Regions from separate parts of the Homo sapiens genome. Here regions 2 and 3 are each linked to region 1. Evidence: promoter capture Hi-C in human tissues and cell types (Jung and others, 2019). All regions are on one chromosome and are shown on one strand. Each heading gives the region's core, a stretch centred on a gene start or on the middle of the fragment in contact. The rest is flanking DNA. Distances are from core to core; before and after follow the strand shown.

What was found. The method cuts DNA at HindIII sites, captures the fragments that hold promoters and counts their contacts. A contact is called where the count stands out against the background at its distance.
Region 2: a contact is called between a fragment that was not itself captured here and the fragment with the promoter of TAF1L in region 1, in 2 of the 25 tissues and cell types used here (mesendoderm cells and pancreas).
Region 3: a contact is called between a fragment that was not itself captured here and the fragment with the promoter of TAF1L in region 1, in 3 of the 25 tissues and cell types used here (dorsolateral prefrontal cortex, lymphoblastoid cells and small bowel).

Annotation. Positions count from the first base shown.
Region 1 is chr9:32,634,017-32,637,650 of GRCh38, reverse strand. It overlaps TAF1L (TATA-box binding protein associated factor 1 like), which reads left to right and starts at 1,982. Exons shown (of 1, transcript NM_153809.2): 1 at 1,982-3,634. The coding sequence starts at 2,072. The HindIII fragment of the contact is 9,470 bases long and covers 1-3,634 here.
Region 2 is chr9:32,235,469-32,239,102 of GRCh38, reverse strand. No RefSeq gene overlaps it. Among named protein-coding and RNA genes, the nearest start is that of ACO1, 150 kb to the left of the region's middle. The HindIII fragment of the contact is 7,110 bases long and covers 1-3,634 here.
Region 3 is chr9:32,897,542-32,901,175 of GRCh38, reverse strand. No RefSeq gene overlaps it. Among named protein-coding and RNA genes, the nearest start is that of APTX, 100 kb to the left of the region's middle. The HindIII fragment of the contact is 8,795 bases long and covers 1-3,634 here.

The DNA.
Region 1 (3,634 bases), core at 733-3,232:
AATCTCCAAGATATATTTTTAAGCAAGAAAAGCAAGGTGGAAAAGTAAATACTATTGGTTATCTAAAAGGAAGAGATAAAAACATGCATACACAATTGATAGTATTTAAAAATAGAATGATAAATAATAACACTTTAAATATGATTACTTATAGAGGATTACATAAACAACCACCCAAGATAATCTGCAATCAAATTGTGAAAATCATTAAGACAGTTGACTAGACTAGTCCCAGCTACTTGGGGAGGCTGAGGCAGAAGAATCACTTGAACCTGGAGACAGAGGTTGCAGTGAGCCAAGATCGCGCCACTGCACTCCAGCCTGGGCAACAGAGCAAGACTGTCTCAAAAAAAAAAAAAAAGCATAAAGGAAAAATTTGATAAGATTGAAATTTTAAAATATATATTAAAGACACCATTAAAATAGATTAAAAGACATGTCACAGACTGGGGAAGTTATTTGCAAGCAAATCCATAATATATGAAGAACTGTTATACATTAAAGAAAAGACAGATAACCTAAAGATACTATAAAAATTAGATAAAAATATATGAAAAGGCAATTGACAGAAGAGGAAAAACAGTTGGTCAATAAGTGTATGAAAAGTTAGCCTTCAGTAGCAATCAGAAAAATACAAATTAAAACCACATTATCATTATACATTTATTAGAAATGAACAAAAATTAACAAATGACAATGCTAAGTGTTAGAATGGATGTGGAGAGGTGAGAACTTTTATACACTGCTGTTAGGTATGTAAAATGGTACAACTACTTTGGAGAACAATTTAGTAATAGCAAGTGTAGTTGAAAAAGCATATATTGTAAAATCTAGTAATTCCACTCCTAGATGTATACCCTGGAGAATGTGTCCTACATATGCTCAAGGAATCATATACATTATTTATAAGAGGAACAATTTGGGAACAATTTAAATGAACAAACATAGGAACATAGATAAATTGTAGCATAACCATACTGTAGAACACTATAGAGCTATAAAAATAGAATTGAATGCATCAACATAGTTGAATATCATAAACATAAATTTTATCCAGAAAACATTCTGGCTAAGAGTACATACAGTAAGGTCGGGTTTGGTGGCTCTTGCCTGTAATCTCAGCACTTTGGGAGGCCAAAGTGGGAGGATTGCTTGAGGCCAGGAGGAGTTTAAGACCAGCTTGGCTAACATAGTGAGATCCCATCTCTTAAAAAAAAGGAAGGGGGAAAAAAAAAACGAGTACACACAGTAAGATGCCTTTTATACAAAATTGTAAAGCATGACAATGCTATAGATTATTTGGAGAAGCATACATATGCAGTTCATGTATAAAGAGATTTACAGAGGCTGGGTGCAGTGGCTCACGCCTGTAATCCCAGCACTTTCGGAGACAGAGACGGGCTGACCATCTGAGGTCAGGAGTTTAAGACTAGCCTGGCCAATATGGTGAAATCTTGTCTCCACTAAAAATACAAAAAATTAGCCAGGCATGGTGGCTCATGCCTGTAATCCCAGCTACTGTGGAGGCTGAGGCAGGAATCTCTTGAACTCCTGAGGTGGAGGTTTCAGTGAGCCGAGATTGTGCCACTGCACGCCAGCCTGGGGCGACAGAGCAAGACTTTGTCTCAAAAACCAGCAAACAGGCTGGGCGCGGTGGCTTACGCCTGTAATCCCAGCACTTTGGGAGGCCGAGGCAGGCGGTTCACGAGGTCAGGAGATCGAGAGGCTAACATGGTGAAACCCCGTCTCTACTGAAAATACAAAAAAAAAAAAATTAGCCAGGCGTGGTGGCGAGCGCCTGTAGTCCCAGCTACTCAGGAGGCTGAGGCAGGAGAATGGCGTGAACCCAGAAGGCAGAGCTTGCAGTGAGCCAAGATCGCGCCACTGCACTCCAGCCTGGGCGACGTTGCGAGACTCCGTCTCAAAAAAAAAAAAAAAAAAAAGTTTTGCGGGTTTTTCCCCCCGCCCCTTTGCCCCCTCCCCCCGCCTTTATTCAGCTTCCGGTAGACGCTGGTAGGGTAAGGGAGCTAAGTAGATCACTTCCGGGCGACTGTTGTTTTATTTCCGGTTTATGCGACCCGGCTGCGATTTGCTGCTGAGGGCAGCAGCTACCGTCACTGCCGCCATCATGTCAGACTCGGACAGCGAGGAAGATTCATCTGGAGGTGGCCCATTTACTTTAGCGGGTATCCTTTTCGGCAACATCAGTGGAGCGGGGCAGCTGGAGGGGGAAAGCGTCTTGGATGATGAGTGTAAGAAGCACTTGGCAGGCTTGGGGGCTTTGGGGCTGGGCAGCCTAATCACTGAACTCACGGCAAATGAAGAATTGACTGGGACTGGCGGTGCCTTGGTAAATGATGAAGGGTGGATTAGGAGTACAGAAGATGCTGTAGACTATTCAGACATCAATGAGGTGGCAGAAGATGAAAGCCAAAGACACCAGCAGACGATGGGGAGCTTGCAGCCCCTTTACCACTCGGATTATGATGAAGATGACTATGATGCTGATTGTGAAGACATTGATTGCAAGTTGATGCCTCCTCCACCTCCACCCCCGGGACCAATGAAGAAGGATAAGGACCAAGATGCTATTACCTGTGTGTCTGAAAGTGGAGAAGACATCATCTTGCCCTCCATCATTGCCCCTTCCTTTTTGGCCTCAGAGAAAGTGGATTTCAGTAGTTACTCTGATTCAGAATCTGAGATGGGACCTCAGGAAGCAACACAGGCAGAATCTGAGGATGGAAAGCTGACCCTTCCATTGGCTGGGATTATGCAGCATGATGCCACCAAGCTGTTGCCAAGTGTCACCGAACTTTTTCCAGAATTTCGACCTGGAAAAGTGTTACGCTTCCTACATCTTTTTGGACCAGGGAAGAATGTCCCATCTGTTTGGCGGAGTGCTCGGAGAAAGAGGAAGAAGCATCGTGAGCTGATACAGGAAGAGCAGATCCAGGAGGTGGAATGCTCAGTAGAATCAGAAGTCAGCCAGAAGTCTTTGTGGAACTATGACTATGCTCCACCACCACCCCCAGAGCAGTGTCTCGCTGATGATGAAATCACGATGATGGTTCCTGTGGAGTCCAAATTTTCCCAATCAACTGGAGATGTAGATAAAGTGACAGATACCAAACCAAGAGTGGCTGAGTGGCGTTATGGGCCTGCCCGACTGTGGTATGATATGCTGGGTGTCTCCGAAGATGGCAGTGGGTTTGACTATGGCTTCAAACTGAGAAAGACACAACATGAACCTGTGATAAAATCTAGAATGATGGAGGAATTTAGGAAACTTGAGGAAAGCAATGGCACTGATCTTCTGGCTGACGAAAACTTCCTGATGGTGACACAGCTGCATTGGGAGGATTCTATCATCTGGGATGGGGAGGATATCAAACACAAAGGGACAAAACCTCAGGGTGCAAGCCTGGCAGGCTGGCTTCCTTCTATTAAGACTAGGAATGTAATGGCTTACAATGTTCAGCAAGGTTTTGCACCCACTCTGGATGATGACAAACCTTGGTACTCCATTTTTCCCATTGACAATGAGGATCTGGTGTATGGACGCTGGGAGGACAATATCATTTGGGATGCTCAGGCCATGCCCCGGCTGTTGGAACCTCCTGTTTTGGCACTT
Region 2 (3,634 bases), core at 655-3,154, 400 kb after region 1:
AACAATGTCTGTCAGTCAGACAGCTGGCCAAATTTGGGCCCACCAATCTGGCTGTGAAGCCCTGAGTTCGCACTTAGGATCAAGAGCTTAATGAGTATCTGAGTTATCAGGAATAAAGGCATGGCTTTTCATAAAAAAAAGAAATCTTGTCCTTTGCAGCAACATGGATGGAGCTCCAGGCCATAATCATAAGCGAATTAACTCAGGAACAGAAAACTAAATACTACATGTTCTCACTTATAAGTGGGAGCTAAACATTAAGCACACATGGACCAAAACATGGGAACAGACACTGTGGACTACTAGCTGGCGAGGTAGGGGGTGATGCATGGGTTAAAAAACTATCTATTGAATACTGTGCTCACTACCTTGGTCCAATATACCTATATAACAAACCTGCACATTTACCCCTGTATCTAAAATAAAAGTTGAAATTAAAAAAATGAGTGAATAGATTAAGTAGTCACCTAAATAAAACAGGTCTATATGTTCATCTGAAAGAAAAAGACAAGGCATCTTGGCAAACTATTTATATATATATATTGTGTGTGTTAATTAAACGTTTTATTGTGAAATAATGGTAGGTTCACATTCAGTTGTGAGATATAATACAGAGAGACCTTGTATATACTTTACCCATTATCCCCCTGGTAATACCTTGCAAAACTATGATACAATAGTTTTGAACAACATTATAATCTGCATGTGGACATTGATACAGTCAAGATAGATACAGAGCATTTCCATCACCACAACAAATCCCCCATGTTGTCCTTTTATAGCCATTTCCCTTCCACTTAAATACCTTCCTTAGCTCCTGTCAATTACTAAGCTAGTCTCCCTTTCTTTGTCACATCAAGAATCTTATAGAATGGAATCATACAGTATATAACTTTTTGGATTTGTTTTCTCACTTAGCAAAATTCTCTGGAGATTCACTCAAATTGTATGCATTGGTAGTTTGTTCCTTTTTATTTCTGTGTAGTATTACATGATATGGATATACCACAGTTTTTAAATCATTTACCCATTGAAGGACATCTGGGTTGTTTCCAGTTTTTTGCAATTACAAATAAAGCTGCAATAAAAATCCATGTAGATTTCTTTTTGTGTAAGCATAAGTCTTCATTTCTCTGGGATAGCAGTGCAGTCCCTGGGTCATATGAACATTGCATGTGCAGTTCTTTTAAGAAACTGCCAAACTGTTTTCCAGAGAGGCTGTACCATTTTATCTTCACACTAGCAATGTATATGTGATCCTGTTTGATACGGTTTAGCTGTGTCCCCACCCAAATATCACCTTGAATTGTAACTCCCACAATTTGCCACGTGTTGTAATAGGGACCTGGTGGGAGGTAACTGAATCATGGGGGCGGGTCTTTTCTGTACTATTCTCATGATAGTGAATAAGTCTCATGAGATCTGATGGTTTTATAAAGAGGAGTTTCCCTGCAAAGTGAAACTTTCTTTCTTTTGTAAATTGCCCAGTCTTGGTAATTTCTTTATCAGCAGCGTGAAAACGAACTAATACACAGTTTCTTCACATTCTCACAAGCATTTGATATTGTCACTATTTTCATTTTAGCTATTCTGATAGGCATACAGTACTCATCACATTCCTAATTTCCTTAATGGCTAATGATGTGAAACATATTTTCATATGTTGGTTTGCCATCTGTATATCTTCTTTGATGAAATGTCTGTGTGTTTTTTTCTTTACTGTTGAGATTTGAGAGTTAATTACATACTTGCCTTTTGTCAAATATGTGGTTTGAAAATATTTTCTCCAAGGTTGTAATTTGTCTTTTTATTCTTTTAATGGAGTCTTTTGCAGAGCAAAAGTTTTTCATGTTGATGGAGTCTAATTCATGAAGCTTTTTTAAAAAATCATGTTTTTAATGTCAAGTATAAGAACCCTTGCCTAGGCCTATAACCTGAAGATTTTTTTCCTATATTTTTCTTAAAATTTTACGTTTTATAATTTACATCTAACTCTATAACCCATTTGGATTAATTTTTGTATATGTTTCTTTTTTTGTTTTGCTTATGGATGTCTAGTTTCTGAACACCATTTATTCAGCAGGCTATCTTCATTGAATTGCTTTTGTACTTTTGTCAAAAACCAGTTGAGCATATTTAAGAGTCTATTTCTGGGTTTTCTGTTCTGTTCTATTGTGCTTATCACTCAGGCAATATCACAGAACTGATTACTGTAGCTATACGATAAATCTTGAAGTTTGGTAGATGATTTTTTACATTTTATTTTTCTCTTTCAAAATTGTTTTACTATTCTAGTTCCTTTTACTTTTCATATAAATTTTAGAATAATCTTCTCTCTATATAAAAGGATATTGCTGGGATTTTGATATAAATTGTGTTAAACCTATACATCAGTTTGAGGAGAATTGATATCTTTATAGATTTAGTCTTTTGATCTGTGAGTACAGTACATCTTTCCATTTATTTAGATCTCTCTCTCTCCTTTCCTCTCTGGCCTTCCTTCCCTCCCTCTCTCCCTTTCTTCCTTCCTTTTCTTTTTTCCTATCCTTTCCTTCACTCTCTCCTTCTTCCTCTTCTTTTTCTTTAGTTTTGCAGTTTTTAGCATACATGTCCTGTACATGTTTTGCTAGATTTGCACCTAAATATTTATTTTTTGAGCAATTATAAATGGTGTTGAATTATTAATTTTGTTCACATGTTCATTGCTAGTATGTAGAAACAGAACTTATTTTGTATGTTTTCTTGTATTCTGTGACCTTGCTGAAGTCATTTATTTTATGAGGTTTTTTTTTTGATAGATTCCTTGCCATTTTCTAAGTTGACAATCATGTAATCTTCAAACACTTTTATTTACTCCTTTGTGATATATGTGTCTTTTGCTTCTTTTTCTTGCCTGTTGCTCTAGCTAGAACTTCCAGTACTATGCTCAACAAAACATCCTTGCATTGTTCCAATCTTCTAGGGAAAGTATTCAATATTAAGTATAATATTAACTGCAGATTGTGTTATAGATACTGTTCATCAAGTTGAAGACATTCTATTTTTTTTTTTTTTTTTTGAGACCGAGTCTCACTCTGTCACCCAGGCTGGAGTGCAGTGGCACGATCTTGGCTCACTGCAGGCTCTGCCTCCCAGGTTCAACCAATTCTCGTGCCTCACCCTCCCAAACAGCTGGGATTACAGGCGTGCACCACCATGCCTAATTTTTGTATTTTTAGTAGAGACGGGGTTTCGGCATGTTGGCCAGTCTTGTCTCGAACTCCTGGCCTAAGTGATCCATTTGTCTCGGCCTCCCAAAGTGCTGGGATTACAGGAGTAAGCCATCACACCTGGTCTCCCCTCTATTCTTAATTTTCTGAAAAAAAAAATTAAAGTCATCGATAGGTGTTGAATTATGTCACTGCTTTTTCTGCATTGATTTTTGTGATTTTTTTTTGTTCTTCTGTAGTCTGCTAATATAATGGGTTACACTGATTGCACTTCATGTATTGAAGCCTTCCAGAAATAATTACCACTTGGTGATGATGTATAACTCTGTTTTGTATATTGATGAATTCTATGTGCTAATATTATGTTGGGCTAGGTATGGTGTGTACCTGTAGTGCCAGCTACTCTGGAGGCTGAAGTGGGAGCA
Region 3 (3,634 bases), core at 331-2,830, 260 kb before region 1:
ATATATGGAAGTATAGAACTTCTATATATACTTCCATATATAGAAGTATAGAACTTCTATATATACTTCCATATGTGGAAGTATAGAACTTCTATATATACTTCCATATGTGGAAGTATAGAACTTCTATATATACTTCCATATGTGGAAGTATAGAACTTCTATATATACTTCCATATGTGGAAGTATAGAACTTCTATATATACTTCCATATGTGGAAGTATAGAACTTCTATATATACTTCCATATGTGGAAGTATAGAACTTCTATATATACTTCCATATGTGGAAGTATAGAACTTCTATATATACTTCCATATGTGGAAGTATAGAACTTCTATATATACTTCCATATGTGGAAGTATAGAACTTCTATATATACTTCCATATGTGGAAGTATAGAACTTCTATATATACTTCCATATGTGGAAGTATAGAACTTCTATATATACTTCCATATGTGGAAGTATAGAACTTCTATATATACTTCCATATGTGGAAGTATAGAACTTCTATATATACTTCCATATGTGGAAGTATAGAACTTCTATATATACTTCTATATCACTAAAATGATGTAAAATAATATACATCATTTTAGTGATGTATAATATAGCACTCAATCGAAACAGTAGTTTACTTATCAGTTTCTCAATTCTTAGACATTTGGATTGTTTCTAGTTATTTGTTTTTATAAACAACATGGATATCTTTTGACAATAGATATATTTGGACATAGGGTTTTTTTTTTTCTATTTTGCATTTCTTCTTTAGAAATTCCACTTCTTTTGAAATTCCAAATAGCTAGTAATTCCCACTGGCTGAATTACTGTCAAGGGGCATGCTAAGTTTTGTGCAGAAACTTAGAATATATCTTATTGATGGCAGTAGGATCTCTTAAAGAGAATTTGTATCTGGAGCCACTCTTCTTATTTTAACCTTTTCCAAGATCCCTGATGGATTACAAATACTTCTGTTGTCTTTGAGAAAGTCATCTATCTAGTTCATAGCTAGTGTATTTTACCTAATACATTTGAAGGATTGGTCTGATGAAAGACAAAGATAAAGATGGGACTAGACAAAGAGTGTCTAAGACTCATATGAGGAATTCGTGGAGTGCCTGAGGCTGCTTTATGTCCTCAGTGATCCCTCATGTATTGGTGAAGGGAAGTGTGAACCCAAGTAAGTGGGTGCAGAGAAGCAGGTCTGTGGCACTGTCCAGGGAGGAACCCTGGGCGTGGAGACTGAACTACTGCAGCTGTGGGTCTTGTTTGAGGAACCAGATCTCAGGTTTTTCTAGAGTTTAGGGGAATGTCTCTCCTCAGCCCATTATATTTCCTTTGTTCTGAATAATCTTCTGATTGGCTCCTCTGGTATCTTGATACGATGATGGTGCCACCATGTAACTCACTGTATATGCGTTGTGATTCCAGCTATAAGGAGGCTATTCTACAAGAATATATACCTCTCTCTATACATTGTGAGCTTACTTCACTTCCAATGCCATCTTGCTGTCTTATTTTTATTTGTTATTTGCCTCTTCTGTTTTTAAATTTTTGATTTATTTTCTCTGATAACTTGCCCACATATTTCTAAGTGGCCTTAAATTTGCTGTGGAATAAGGTGTGGTTTGGATGCAGGATGAATAGATTGGCTTTCTAGTTTTAGGAATTGGTTTGGCTCATTTAGTATGAGTTTGTCATAGAAAGGCTACTCTTCTTGGGTCTAGTGCTGTCAGACCTGACTGAGTCAAGACCAGAGAGTAGATCCTGATGATTCAGCCCCAGTGCTGTCTTGGAGGACCTGTCATTAAAACACCAGCTGCCCTGAGTCACTCCACTTCCCCATTTTGTGCCCCTTCAAAAAGGCAAACACAGAGTTAGATAATATTTATGAAAGAGTTAAAAGCTCAGTTAATAGTAAAGCATACTTACTGCGTTTGTCTTTTCTGTGTCCTTATACCTTTTCCTTCTCTACTTTCAACCTACAGAAATTTTAGTTTTGATCAAAGGAGAAAAGTGAGTTTAGCTTTTAGCCTGGATTATTCTGCTGACTAAATGTTATAATTTAATGATTTAGAATTTTGGAACTAAACGCTTTCAATAGTTAGTAACTCATAATATTGAGCTTCCTAACATCTTTTTTTTAAATGAATATGTCTCTTCTTTCCTGAGTATGAACTCTACGCCCTCGCAGTATTGAGACCAAGTCTTTGCACAAAGCAGGAACTCAACACATGTGTGCTGAATTGAATACTCTCACCTCCAAACAGGGTTGAGAAAGCAAGATTTCTTGTCATCCTATCTTAAGAAACAGAAAGCAATGCTGCTAATAACATATATGTAGGATTGATACCCTTTACCAGAGACCCCTCTCACTCAGGGATGGCAAGGAAAGACTGGCCTACTAGAGGTGGTGTTCCAGTTTCTGATTTAAATTTCATTTGTAGTCAGAGGAGCTTTGTTTATTTTAAGATTAAAAAGTATTTGTATGAAGGGTGTCATACAGTTAGTGCTAATTTTTTAATTTAGGAAATGTCATTTCTATTCAGCTACTTGAAATTAAATTTCAAATCTTTGAAACGGTGAGAAACATCCCAAAATATTTCATGTAAGGTGAGAATAAGAGCCAAAGCTTGTAGCTATGGCCAAGAACCTCTGATTTGAGGTAAACATGTGATTCCTTTGGAAATCCATTCTAACACTCCAGTACATTTTCTTAATCCCCTCCAGTGAATCAGATGATTTTGAGAGTGTAGGTAGGCTGAGCCATTTTAGCATTTAAAACTAATAACTAGACTTTGGGTATCCAGCTCATCATTACTGTGATATCACTTGAGAACAAAAGAGAGAAAAGGGTTTTTTTTAAAGGGCAAATTCCATCTGGTCGCATTAGATCATAGGACTAGGAAGCTAAATAACCCATTTTCAGAGCTCTTCAGAGTGATTACAGGATGTTTGCTGCAGAGTAGCCCTGATAAAGAGAAAGGATTTAAATAATTCCACCAGTGATCATTTTTTCTCACTTTTTTTTGCTCTGTACTTTCTTGTCATGATAATTGATACTTTCTCACATGTTAATGTAACAGCTGTCTCTACTGATAATAAAACAGCTTCTTTCTTTTGCAAAGGGGACAAGTGGGAAATGTGCCTCCTAGATTCCTGACGATGGACAAATGTTCACTCACATCTTGTTTGCTACTGGCAAAATGACCCATTGAAACTGAACTTCTAAGGTTTGAGGCATTTCTTTTTTTTTTCTTTTTTTTTTTTTTTTGAGATGGAGTCTGGCTTTGTCGCCCAGGCTAGAGTGCAGTGGCAAGATGTCGGCTCACTGCAAGCTCCGCCTCCCAGGTTCACACCTTTCTCCTGCCTCAGCCTCCCGAGTAGCTGGGACTACAGGTGCCCGCCACCATGCCCAGCTAATTTTCTGTATTTTTAGTAGAGACGGGGTTTCACCGTGTTAGCCAGGATGGTCTCGATCTCCTGACCTCGTGATCCGCCCGCCTCGGCCTCCCAAAGTGCTGGGATTACAGGTGTGAGCCACCGCACCCAGCCAGTTTGAGGCATTTCTGCTGCCCAGGTTAATGCACAGACACACAGCTGTCAGCCATTGTCAGACAAGAAATGAACTCT